2 separate regions of the Homo sapiens genome follow, and region 1 is linked to region 2. The links are contacts of gene promoters, found by promoter capture Hi-C in blood cells and fetal thymus (Javierre and others, 2016). All regions are on one chromosome and are shown on one strand. Each heading gives the region's core, a stretch centred on a gene start or on the middle of the fragment in contact. The rest is flanking DNA. Distances are from core to core; before and after follow the strand shown.

Region 1 (6,651 bases), core at 3,392-5,891, 220 kb before region 2:
CAAGAATACAAGTTTTAAGGAAAGCCCTCCTTCTTTAGGCAAGATTTTTTAAACTCACCAATACAGAAACTCTTTTTATTCTCCTTCAAATATTGTCCTTTGCTCTTGAACAGTGATAGGTCATATGAGTATAGATTTGAGTGCCATTTTCATCAGCTTTTTATGATATTTTTATAGGAAGTGTTTTCTGATTCTTATAAAATAATAAATATTACTATTTATTTTTCTGTTTCAACTTAGAGGGTTAAATATACAAGCTTTAAAAAACACTATATGCAATGTTCTTTAGAGTTGTGTGGCTCAGTATGTCCATCCCTTAAATTTCATATTTGAAATTGTTCGTTAATTCAAAAGGAAGTAATCATGGGAGTTATCACTGTTTATTTGAATTTCTGAGGTCAAAACCTGTGAAAAATGATACTTGGACATTTCTTCCAAAACTTTGGTCTTTAATTGTTTAGCACAATGCTATGAATTTGCCTAAATACTAAGGTAGTGTTAGCAGATACTTTCTTGTAGCATAGTTGAAACAAGCTTCTGGGACTATAAGGAACAGTGAAGGGGCTGTTCTTCCTGTTAATGCCTGGAAAGACTTTGGGAATAATTAGATTGTACTATCAGTTATAAACTGTCAGTTATAAATATCTTAGCAAGGTGTATGTGTGTGTGTGAGAGAGAGAGAGAGAGTCCTCGGGTCTTACTTATCACAATTTCACCATCCTCTACTACATGAAGCCCCATCTCATGTGTATTAGTTTGCTAGGGCTGATGTAACAAAGTACCACAAACTGGATGGCTTAGACAACAAATGTTTATTGTCTCACAGTTCTGGAGGCAAGAGGCTTGAAATAAAGGCGTTGGCAAAGTTGGTTCCTTCTAAGGGCTGTGAGAGAGAATGTGTTCTATGCCTCTCCCCTAACTTCCAGTAGTTCTCTGGCAGTCTTTGCCGTTTCTTGTCTTCTGCTGCATCACTGTCATGTCTGCCTTCATCTTCACATTTCGTTCTCACTGTGCATATGCCTATGCCAAATTTCTCCTTCTTAAAGAACATCAATCATATTGAATTAAAGGCCCACCCTACTCCAGTATGGCTTCATCTTAACTAATTCCATCCAAAAATACCCTATTTCCAAATAAGGTCACATTCTTAGATACTGGGGGTTAGGAATTCATAATGTGAATTTGGGGGGACACAGTTCAACCCACAACACTATATCACAAAATAAGTGACAATATTGAACATAATCATGACTTTTGTTGTTTACCTTTACAAATAAGAATTTGTACTTACAAATATTTGCAGGCATTTACAAATGTTTTTATTTTACAGAAATATTTTTGGTGTTTATACTGCCACAGAAGAAATAACAATGTCTTGGTTCCAGCTTTCTTAGCTGAATGTTTTGTTGTAATATTTGTTTAAATATCTGTATTTCCCAGTAGACTTATGGGGTGAATATGGCATGATGTTTACTATCACACAGTCAGAATCTAATTGACTTGCAACTGGTAAGTTTTCAATATTTATTGAATGAATGAATAAGTAAGCTATTATATTGTACACTTAAATATGGGTTTAGGTGGCTTTGAGAGCTTAATTTTTTTTGAGACGGAGTCTGGCTCTGCCGGCCAGGTTGAAGTGCAGTGGCACCATCTCAGCTCACTGCAATCTCTGCCTCCTGGATTCAAATGATTCTCCTGCCTCAGCCTCCGGAGTAGCTGGGAATACAGGTGTGCACCACCACGCCTGGCTAATTACTTGTATTTTTAGTAGACATGGGGTTTTACCATGTTGGCCAGGCTAGTCTCGCACTCCCGACCTTAGGTGATCCACCTGTCTCAGCCTCTCAAAGTGCTGGGATTACAGGTGTGAACCACTGAGCCCAGCCGAGACTTTAATTTTGATTTGGAGTTGCAGCTACTGAACATGTAGGAAGGATGGTCTGTGAGTGTGTGTGTGTGTGTGTGTGTGTGTGTGTGTGATGTGCTCACTCCGAAAAGTTGCTATTTCAGTAACCATTAATTTAATCACAGTCTTTCTGTGTGTGTAATGCAGATAATTGCTTATAAAAGGACTGTTCAGTTCTGTATTTCTGATCTTTGTAAATTTTATGACAATGAAAAATATTTTCCATTACATTTAAGTAAGTTAATTCTAAATTTTATTTAGTTTCTATAAAACTTAGCAACTTAGTTACAAAATACAATTTATCTGTAGAAATATTTGCAACAGTCAGTTTAGTTAGCAGAAATACCTTTTGACATGAATAATTAAGAAGAGTAAGGCATTTGATTGAATATTTTACTATTATTATTAATTCATATTTATAGATCCCATTATATTTATATTACATAATGCTATTTAGACACTTCAGGCTTTCTTTTAGAAATATGCTACCAAAAGCCAGAATCATGTTCACAGAGAAATATTAAAAATATTCTTATTAGTCACAATACAAGGATGTCCACCATCACCACTATTATCCACGTGTATTTTTTATGAAAGCACTAGTCATTCAATTGGACAAAAAAATTAAATTGTGTAAAATAGGAAATAGGGATGAAAAGTTATCTTTATTTGCAAACGGTATGACTTTCTACCTGAAAAACCAATTGAAAAAACTATTCGAAACAATATGAAAATTCACTGAGTATAAAAATGTTATTAAAAATCAATAGTTTTCCTTTATGCAGTTAAAAATACAGCAGGGAAAGGGATTTTTATTTAAAATAGCAATAAATTTTAAAATGTGCAAGACCTAAAGGAAAAAAAAATTAAGAGACGTGAAAACCTGAATCAGGGACCTCCCTCCTCTCTGTGCATGTGGCCTCACTACTGCTGCTTCTGGAGGGACTGAAAAATCCCTGAGACCAGCATCTCAGGGATGCTGGTCTGGCAGTCAGAGAGGTCTCTGAGCTGACAGGATTTCCTGAAATGCTGTGAAAATTTTGCATCCTGAAATCCATGCTGGAATCCTGGCTCATAATATCCCAAAAGGTAATGCTGACATGGCCAGGCCTGATTGTTGCCTGTAATCTCTATCCCTTCCTGAAGACAGTGGCTTCTCCAGGTGTAATGGTTGAGAGGCTGTTGAGCAAATTGGTACTGGTAGAGTAACTTTACTGAGAGATGCCACCAAAAACCACAATCCAGTGACAGTGGTGTGTCAGAGGACTATGAGGCAGTGTCCACAGACAGGCAGAGCTCCAAGAGTAAGGACACCTTCTTGGAGACTAGGTGCCAGTTAGTCTTGAAGGCATTCACATTCACTTATATGGCACAATATGATGAAGCAATTTCAGATTACCTCAGGAAATAGCACAGTAAAGGAATATCTCAGATGCCCTTGCAGTACAGAATGATCCCTCATCAGACTCCTGTGCAGCTATACACACTGAAGCCTAAGCTTCCCATCACAGTTCTAAATGGAGCCCCTGGATTTAAAAACTTTTGTGATGCTTTGAATGCCTGGCAGCTGGTGAAGGAACTCAAAGAGGCATTAGGCATTCTATCTGCTGCCCTTTTCAAACATGTCAGCCCAGCAGATGCTGCTGTTGAAATTCCACTCAGTGAAAATGAGGCCAAAGTCTGCATATATCATAAGCAAAGTTAAAAGACAAATGAAAAATTGGGAAATATAGGCAATGTGTATGTTAGCCACAGGGCTAATTTTCTTAATAAGAAAAGAGCTCTCATGAATCAACAGAAAAAATGAACAACTCAAAAGACAAGGCACATGGACAGGCAGTTCACAGAAAGACCACTGACATTGTGGCTGATATGTAAATTGAAAAGATTCTCAGTGTGCTCATGATGAAAGAAATTTTAATCACAATAACAATAAGATAACATATTTCACCTAATAGGTTGGCAAAAAATTTTAAAATTTGACAACAACAAGTGATGACAAGGATGAGGGACAACCTAAATATTGATGAGAGTATAAATGGTGGCAATCACTTTCATAGGCAGTTTAGCAATAAGCTGACAATTTTTTTCGAGACAGGGTCTTTCTCTGTGGCCCAGGCTAGACTTCAGTGGATGACCTCCTGGGGTCAGGCAGATCCTCCTACCTCAGCCTCCCAAATAGCTGGAACTACAGGTGTGCACTATGATGCCTGGCTAATTTTTTAATTTTTTTGTAGAGACAGGTGTCTCACTATGTTGCCTAGGCTGCTCTCGAACTCCTAGGCTCAAGCACCCTTCCTGCCTTGGCCTCCCAAAGTGCAGGGATTACAGGTGTGAGCCACCACTCCTGGCCCCAAAATTGTTTGCATACCTTTTGTTACAATGGATTTACTTTCCAAAAATGTCCTTGGTATGTATGTATGTGTGTTTGTGTGTTTGTGTGAGAGTGTGTATGTCTGTATGAATGTATGTATGTATTATATATAATCTTCATAGAAGGATGCAAAGATATACATACACAGGTGTTCATTTTGCTAAGGTAGGAACACCACATCAATACAAGAGAAAAAATAGCTTTGTACATAACAGGAAGAAACTGTCCATCATAGTAGGTAAGGGTATAGAGTCAGAATGCCATGATTCAACTCCTTCTCTGCAAGTTACCTGCAGCATCATCTTGGGTAACTTTCTTCTTTTTGTACTTCAATTCTCCCATCTGTAAAATGGGAATAATAGTACTACTCTACCTCATAGAGTTATTGTAAGAATTAAGTGTAACGTACTAGTAACAGTGACCGGCACAGAATTACTTGATCCATAAACATTAGTTATATGATACTAATTATCCCCGTTGTTCTAAAAGGGGAGAAAGCTGCATAAATGTAACCTAGAAGTCAGAGGTCAACACAGGCAGCTTCTATTTTCATCCTAAACTAAACCTAAAGTGGGCCTCGATTCTCCCCACAAGGAAACCTAGTACACAAAATACTAGTTAGCACATATATTAGTCTGTTCTCACACTACTGATAAATACATACCAAGAGTAGATAATTTATAAAGGGAAGAAGTTTAATTGACTCACAGTTCTGCAGAGCTGGGAAGGCCTCAGGAAACTTACAATCAAGGCAGAAGGGGAAGCAAATATGCCCTTCTTCACATGACAGCAGGAAGGAGAAGTGCGGAATGAAACAGGGAAATCCCTTTATAAAACCATTCAATCTTGTGAGAACTCACTCACTATCACAAGAACAGTATGAGGGTAACTGCACCCATGATTCAATTACCTCCCAACAGGTCCCTCCCACAACATATGAGGATTATGGGAACTAGAATTCAAGGTGAGATTTGGGTGGGGACACAGCCAAACCATATCAGCAAAGTAGATTGAAACATTGAGCAAATAACAAAGGATTGAAGGGAGATCCTGGACCCAATAGCATACTTTGTCCATCCTCATTCAACTTGCGTCTTTTTCTTAGTTTGTCGTTACCTCTTTATTATGTGGAGAGGATAGAGATTTTTCTGCCCACGTCTCCCCCTTCCCTAACATTGTATCCGTGTTTCTAGAAACCAGCCTTTCTGGCTTTCTTTGATTTATATCTAGGTTCCATATTTTTTCAAGTACATGTTTGTGTTTTTTAAAATATATATATGGATATACATACATGTATATATATCTTTTGCCCATTTTTATCTATAGGGCTCATGCTTTCTCATCAAACTGTAACTCTTCATAAAAATTTTATTAAACCTTTGTCTAATCCTGTGCACATTTTACAGAAAATATTGTTAATCTAATTCAAGTAATACTTATTAGTTATTAAATTGTGAAAGATTTTTGAAATTTTTGAAATGCATGTTACTGACATGCACCAAAATAAAAGTCCTCATTTTCCCTAGAGTTTCACTGCTAATACTATCAGACTGGCTGTCTTATTTTTAAGCATAAATTCCATGTTGGAAAGAGAAGCTTTATATTCAAATAATGTAATCCATCACTAAAGGTTTTCATATATTATGTATATGGGCGGGGCATGGTGGCTCACAGCTGTAATTCCAGCACTTTGGGAGGCCAAGGCTGGTGGATCACTTGATGCCAGGAGTTCCAGACCAGCCTGGGCAACATGGTGAAACCCTATCTCTACAAAAAAATACATATATACATACATATATACATATATATATATATATATATAGAGAGAGAGAGAGAGAGAGAGATGGAGAGAGACAGAGAGAGACAGACAGGGTCTTGCTTTGTCACCAAGGCTGGTGTATAGTGGTGCAATCTCAGCTCATTGCAGCCTCAACCTCCCAGGCCCAAGCAATCCTCCCACCTCTCAGCCTCCCAAGTAGCTGGAGTGGCTGAGACTACAGGTGTGTGCCACCATGCCCAGATAATTTTTTCATTTTTTGTATAGATAGGGTTTCACCACGTTGCCCAAGGTGGTCTCGAACTCCTGGGCTCAAGTGATCCTTGGCCTCCCAAAGTGCTGGAATTACAGCTGTGAGCCACTGCGCCCAGCCCATATGCTTAATATATGAAAACTTTTAGTGATTGATTACATTATTTGAATATAAAGCTTCTCTTTCTAACCTGCAATTTATGCTTAAAAATAAGACAGCCAGTCTGATTCCTAAAAATTTGATCTTAATTTTCTCAACAAATGCCAAAAATCATCTCAGTCAAAGTTAATGAAAGGTAAAATGAGTACTATAGAAAGGACATCAGGTGTCTCACAGAC
Region 2 (6,822 bases), core at 2,518-5,017:
AAGAGAGGAGTTGGAGATCCAGTATTGCTGCTGACTGGCTCTTTGACTTGGGGCAAGTTAATTTCAGCTTTCCCAGCCAAATGGTTGCTAAGGTGTCTTACAGCTCTAGTTTTCATTGTAACTTGTTACCCAGGGAAGCACACTACCAAACTTATCCAGTGAGATAAGACAGGAAAGATTTAATCACATTCTCTCTCAACCAAAGTTAATCAGTCTTCATTATCAGAAACTTATTTTTTATTACATATATTAGTTTCTTATGTTGTGAGTTAATCCTAGATCTCTCAGAGAAAAATGTGTATTTCCTTTCGCATCACCTATTTCTATTATTGTGGTTTATTTATGTATTTATTTTTAATAATTAGATAAGTGGATCCTGATGTTAACTAACAACTTATACCAATCTGAAAAGGGTTAGCTTTATGAGTACTTCCTTTAGTTTGCCCCTATGTCAACTGAGGCCTTGGTCATGGGTTTGGTCCATATATAGGCCATTAGCTACATGTGAAGAAGATCTCAGGTTCTGATTTGCTGCCTTGGGAAGTGAGGTTGTTAATCATAGGGGGTACACTGACAGGATGTAAATATGGCTCATCACCATAACTGGAAAAAAGCAATGTTAATGCGCCTCTCCCGCCACATATAGTCATCTTGGTGCTGATGCTCACCTTCCAGTATAATGAAAAGTTCAAATTCATCTGTCAGGCAGAATGCATTAAACCAGGATAAGAAAGTAAGGGTCAGTGAATTAGAATAAACATACTTACTACACACATAAAATAAAACAAAACCCCAAATCCACACTTCCAAAACAGGTTTGAGATGACATTTCAATTGAAGATTCACCACATTAAAGAGTTCCTTGTTCCTGAGCGATGTGCTGTAGATCATTAATTCTATAAACATGCAAGTAGCTGCCATGTTTTTGGTGGATCTGTGTCATATCACTGCCACAGTGATAAAGGAAGCTGAAGAAGCTCCAACACATGGAAAATAAACCAGATCACTGCACAGGCTCATTTATATGGAACAGAGGACTAAGTTGGATGTTAAACATTTTAAAGATTTCCCATTGCTTCTCTTTCCTTTGTCAGGGGGTGTATTTTGCAGAATGTATATGAAAATAACTTCTAAGTGATATAAAAGCTTGCATCTTAACTTCTAAGTGATATAAAAGCTTGCATTTTATATGGGGAAAATACATGTATTCAGACTATTTTTAACCACTTGAATTTTGCATCTCTTCCTTTTTTTTTTTTTTTTTTTTGAGACAGGGTTTCGCTCTGTCATCCAGGCTGGAGTGCTGTGGCACGGTCATAGCTCACTGCAGCCTCAAACTCCTGGGCTTAAGTGATCCTCTTGTCTCAGCCTAACTCAAAGTAGTTAGGACTACAGGTGTGTGCCACCACACCCGGCTCCTTCCAATTTTTTATTGATAACTTTTACTTCCCATGTCACACAGTCACTATTATTTCTCTTTCTGGTGTTTGCAGAGATCCCCTTCTATTTTCTCCCTTGTATGCCAAGTATCTTTCGACACTTCTTTTTAGTCACAAACACCTTTACATTGCTTATCATCTTCCTTCTTACTCATTTGGGTCACCTTTTCCCATAAGCTCAAATAATCTTAAAACAAATCCAATTTGGAATCTGTTACTGAAGAATTCTAGCTGATAAAAGTGTTTTGGATCTCTTTCTCTGGGAGCCTTGAGAAATAAAGTTAAAGGTCATTTCTTTAATTGTACATGCAGACAATAGTTTTTATAGCATTTGAAAAGTATACCTATTAATAAACTTTAGGATAATAAAAACTTAGACAAAATCTAACCAAAATGACATACAATGTTAAGTATGGGAAGGGTCTTTAAACAACACTGTCTCATCTATGGCAAGGTTCTATGGTCTGACTGTAATGCCTATTGAGAAGCCCTTGTCTATTTGGTTTTCTTTATACTTGGGGAGAAAAAAGACAAAAAGGGAAACAAGAAAACCAGCAATGTTCAACAACCTTCCAGGCTATTTCCAAGAACAATCTTTGTACCTCACAACATCTCCACCTAGTGACTCCTTAAGGATCTTACAGCCATTCCTAGAAATTACTTGTTTTAAATTGCCACTAATATGCCTAACCTCATTTCAGATAATTTAACCTTAAACACATGTATTTAGAATTAATTACTAGGAATTGAGAAGGTACCGACATGAAAATGAAGAATGAGGAGAATCTTTTTCTGGAGAAATAAAAGAGCAGCAAAAAATAGTAATCAATATAACAATCACAGTTCCCGAGGTACAGAATTGGTGACATGTCAAACAAAGCCAACTAGATCTATCAGTCTAGGTTTTCTAGTTGCTTTATTTTGAATGCATACATCTTATATAAAATGACACTTGTATTCATTGACTAAAGGGCAGACGGCTTACAAAAAATATTTGTTGAGCTTCCAGTGTGCATCAAGTACTATGCCAAGTTTTCTACTTGTTTCTGGACGTATTTTGAGACAGTATAGTATAGCAATTATGTCTGTAGGTTTCAAACTGGAGCCACTTACTTGCTATATGACTTTGCCCAAACTACTTAAGGTTTCTGCATCTGTTTCCCCGTCTGCAAAGTAGGGCTAGTAACTTTACCAAAGTTACTGTGAGAATTAAATGAAAATATGAAAAGTCCTTAGGATTGTTTCTGGCATCTGGCTCAATATTTGGTAATATCATATATTATTTTATTCTCACAATCCCCACTTTAAACAGGGTCTGTCTGGCTCCAAAGTCCCTGCTAATTCCTCACTGTTGTAGTATATTTAAAAATTAAAAATATACTTTAACAAAATTTAAATTGGTAGACATTCATTAGTTCCTTGAATATATGGAGAAAATACATTAGGAGTTAATGTGGAAGAAATCACCTTGAGGTTGGGAATAAGGAGATCTGTGTTACTCGGTGAATATTCTGGGCATGAAGTTCCTTGTTAATTAGAGAATCAACATGAGCTAGGTTCTTTATTGTCTAATATTCCATGAATCTAATATTATCTATACATAAATAGTTGGTTCCTAAAGGTGGTTTTTTCTTTCCTTGTCTGCATTTAATTTCGAGCTGTCTTCAAAGGAAGCAAAACTGAAGTTATGCATACCGAATGCCAAACAACCCTATCTGTGAAAGTTGGTTTTACAAGAGCATAGAACCCAGTTCGGCAGTTCGCCTCTGCCAAATGTCCCTGCAAGCTGATTAGTGGTAGCGTCAAGCCTATCGCTAGTTCTCCTCATCTAACCCATTTTCTTAGTCATTGTCATTTAAACCACTTATACTTTATACTTCTAGTCCTATTTGCAAATCCATCTTTTAGCTTTATAACCCACCTCCCCCTAGCCCTTAATTTCAAAGGTCCACCGGATATATGTGGTTGTTTTGCGCCAAACTAGCAGTTTACAAGAAAACTACATCAAACAAGAAAAAGAACCATTACGATGCATCTATGTTTTCCCTTAAGTGCGGAATTTCACACTGCAGCCCTCGTCTTCAAACACCTAAACAATGCACCTAGGACCTTCATTTATTATTCCGTGCCCACCCACACCCTAAAAATCGCTCTCTTCACCCCAATTGCTCGAAATGCCTGTCACTCCAAGCACTTTGACTAGCCCAAGAGCCTCATTTAAACTTTAGCCCCACTCTCTCCTCCTCGCCCCGCCCCGAAGCTAATCCCTGATTGGATGAGGCACCACTCCTCGTGGGGCTGCTTAGGCCACCGCGCGCGCTGCGCGCTGGGAAACGAGTGGAGACACGAGGACCAGCGCGAGCGGTCCCGGTGGGCTACCCTCCCCCTGCGACGACCCCCCCTCGCTCTGACCGACTGGTCCCCTAAACGGTGGCGGCGGTTTTTGGTCGTTGGGCCCCGGGATTTAGGACCAACATTTGAAGACCCGAAGGGGTGAGGAGGGGAAAGGGGAAACGGGGTCACTACCAGACCACTGCTAACGGCTGGATAGTGCCCGGCTCACTCTCACGCCGAATACACAGTGGGGGCTGGCGGCGGTGGCTGCGGGGTTCACCCTCGTCCTTCCCCAGCCCCGTCGAGCAGTGGGAGGGCAAGTGTCCGAGACGCTGCTTCCTGCCCCGGCAGCATCCGGCCAGAAGGCGCCCTCGCCGTCACCCAGGCGCTGCATGGTGAGGGCCCAGCGGCCAGTCTCTTTGGGGCGTCTGGCGGCCTCTTCCGCCCCGCGGCGCCCTGCGCTCTCCGCCTTATTTCCGCTCTCCCCCGCTGCCTTCCGGCCGCTTCCCACCTGTGCTGCATTTCGTGTTATTTTCCTGACACGCTTACGCCGACGACCAACGACCGCTGCAGGCCCGGGCCGCTGCCTGGCCGTTGTAGGGTCCGCGCGTCCCCTGGAGGCTTTGGACGCCGTCTGGGGCGTCCCGACGGCTGGGTGAGATTCAGCAGTCTGGTTTCAGAATTGAATTCAGGCTGGGTGAGCTTTAGCGGGCTCCTAGTCGTTTGCGTGGAGTTCTAGCCGGGACTGAGCCTCGAACTTTACTTTGCCTTTGTCTCCCTGTTTCTTCCCCGAGTACCTCGTGTGTGCTGGGCTGTGGGCAGTGGGAGGCCGCGGGTGCACAGGGAAGATAGCTCGCCTCTCCCCCGACACACGGACGGCAGCACACGTCGTGGCACCGCCTTTGTTTCCTAACATCTGGTAGTTTTTAAACCCCTAATTTAAAAATGTTTCTTTGGAGCTGCTGGAAAAACCACAGAACCAGCGGCATTTAATCCTGGCGTTGATATTCTGAGATATTGCGAAGCTGCTTGATTTATTTGGGCACCAGTTTTCTCCTATGTAAATTTAGCTTAGGTAATATTTAAGTTCTTTAAGCTTTAACTGTCTTTACATTCTTGATAAATTCCCCGTAACCTTTATGTTATGTGGTAATCCTAATATAGGCAAATATCAAAGAGGAAATATCATAAGGAGTTTTTTTGTTTTGTTTTTTGTTTTGTTTTGAGACGGAGTCTCGCTCTGTCTCCCAGGCGGGAGAGCAGTGGCAGGATCTCGGCTGACTGCAACTTCCGCCTACCGGGTTCAAGCGATTCTCCTGCCTCAAACTCTCGGGAGTAGCTGGGACTACAGGCGCGCGCCACCACGCACAGCTGATTTTTGTATTAGTAGAGACAGGGTTTCACCATGTTGGCCAGGATGGTCTCGATCTCTGGACCTCATGATCCACCCGCTTCGGCCTCCCCAAGTGCTGGGATTACAGGCGTGAGCCATCGCCGCCGAGCTTTTTAAGTCTTGGCTTCTCTTAAAAATTGGCCTGATTTTGTGTTTGAGAATGGCGTTATAACCAGGAAGCAGGATATGTTGCGTGTATAAGGAGAATAACATATAAAGGACATGTTCAAGGGTCTGTAGAATTTTGCTTATTTAAATAATGGGAAGATATTTTCGTTTCAAGAATCACCACGATGTATATACAGTTTGACAGACTTCCATTTGGATCTTTTCAGAATTGAATCTCCTTATGGGGGTCTAATAATAGACTTGTTTTCAGGGCACACGTTTAAAACATTCTACTTTAAACTTTGTTTGCATCTGTCTGCATTTGTTTGCATTGTTAATAAAATTTGTTTGCATCTTTATAGACATAAAGATGACAGTGCTGCCTGCAATCACTAAATATTAATGCTTTCTGCTTAAGGCACTGCTTTGATTGCTGATTTTCACTTAAGAGGTTGGAGTAATGTACTTGAATATTATTGCCAAATATAATACATATCAACACTTAAAATATATGCATTACTGGATATATTATGAAACAAGAATTATTAATAACGAGAACAAACCCAGTTTATGGACTGAAATTAAGTCTCAGGTTTAATGGTGTTATTTTATTGTTAGGAGAAGGAAGACATGTCAGTTTAAGTAGAGTTTGTGACTACAAATCAAGTAATTGCTGTAAAAATTGTCCAGATTTGCATATTAATGCCGAATGTTATTTCTCATTTTACTACCCGATGATTGATGAGGCAAGAAAATGTGATCTCTATGTTCAAATTGGTAACAGATTTAAAATAACAGATTATGAAGGACCTTGTGTAAGGAATGGTGTACTTAATTTGGACAAGAATATGTAGATATCTTTATCCTGAATTCAAACAGCATATACACCTTTGTGTTCAAAGCAGTATTTTTTAAAAGTATTAGTTACAGTTTTTTTAAATAGTTCAATTTTTAAGTCATTCAGAATTTAAACTTAATATTAAAACTTTTATCCATTATATATTTAACTTCTAGCAATAAAATGTGCTCTCATTCTTTAATAAAAACAACTTAAAATGGAATTGAACTGATCCATCTGTACACTTATTTCGAAATAATTTTAGACTTCCATGTCCACACACTTTTGATTAACTCTTCTCGTTTTCCAAGAACGAGAAGTGTAGTGGCTGTAGTGCAGTCTGTCACTAAAATGAATTGCTGCTTAAAAACAAACAGAAAACCTCCATTGACCTGGCAACCATTGACCTGGCAACCATGGTTTCCATGTACCATACTCAATGACAACAGTGCTAACAAATCAGGAGTTTAGTACCATGTAATTCAAGAAATGTCATAAACATTTAATGTGCCCCTATAAAGGCACGCTTTGATATTCTTAATTTTTTTCATTATTACATTGAGTTTTTAAAACCCACAGTAAGATTATATAATGTTCTCTTTCACAGCTTTCTAAATTTTTACAGTAACTTGGAAGATGAAGTTTCAGTTGAAGTAGTTTTAATACAGCTGACACAGTTCCTTTAAATAATTTTCATTAATGTTTTGCTT

Evidence for each region. The method cuts DNA at HindIII sites, captures the fragments that hold promoters and counts their contacts. A CHiCAGO score of 5 or more calls a contact.
Region 1: a fragment that was not itself captured here is called in contact with the fragment with the promoter of RBM46 in region 2 in 2 of 17 cell types (megakaryocytes and endothelial precursors); the score reaches 9.3 in megakaryocytes.

What each region holds. Positions count from the first base shown.
Region 1 is chr4:154,552,396-154,559,046 of GRCh38, forward strand. It overlaps the pseudogene LOC100422640. Among named protein-coding and RNA genes, the nearest start is that of PLRG1, 5.3 kb to the left of the region's middle. RefSeq lists an enhancer at 1-16. The HindIII fragment of the contact is 2,472 bases long and covers 3,406-5,877 here.
Region 2 is chr4:154,777,505-154,784,326 of GRCh38, forward strand. RBM46 (RNA binding motif protein 46) reads left to right here and starts at 3,768. Exons shown (of 5, transcript NM_144979.5): 1 at 3,768-3,932. It overlaps LOC105377500 (a long non-coding RNA gene), which reads right to left and starts at 4,369. Exons shown (of 4, transcript NR_188451.1): 1 at 4,285-4,369. The HindIII fragment of the contact is 3,692 bases long and covers 1,176-4,867 here.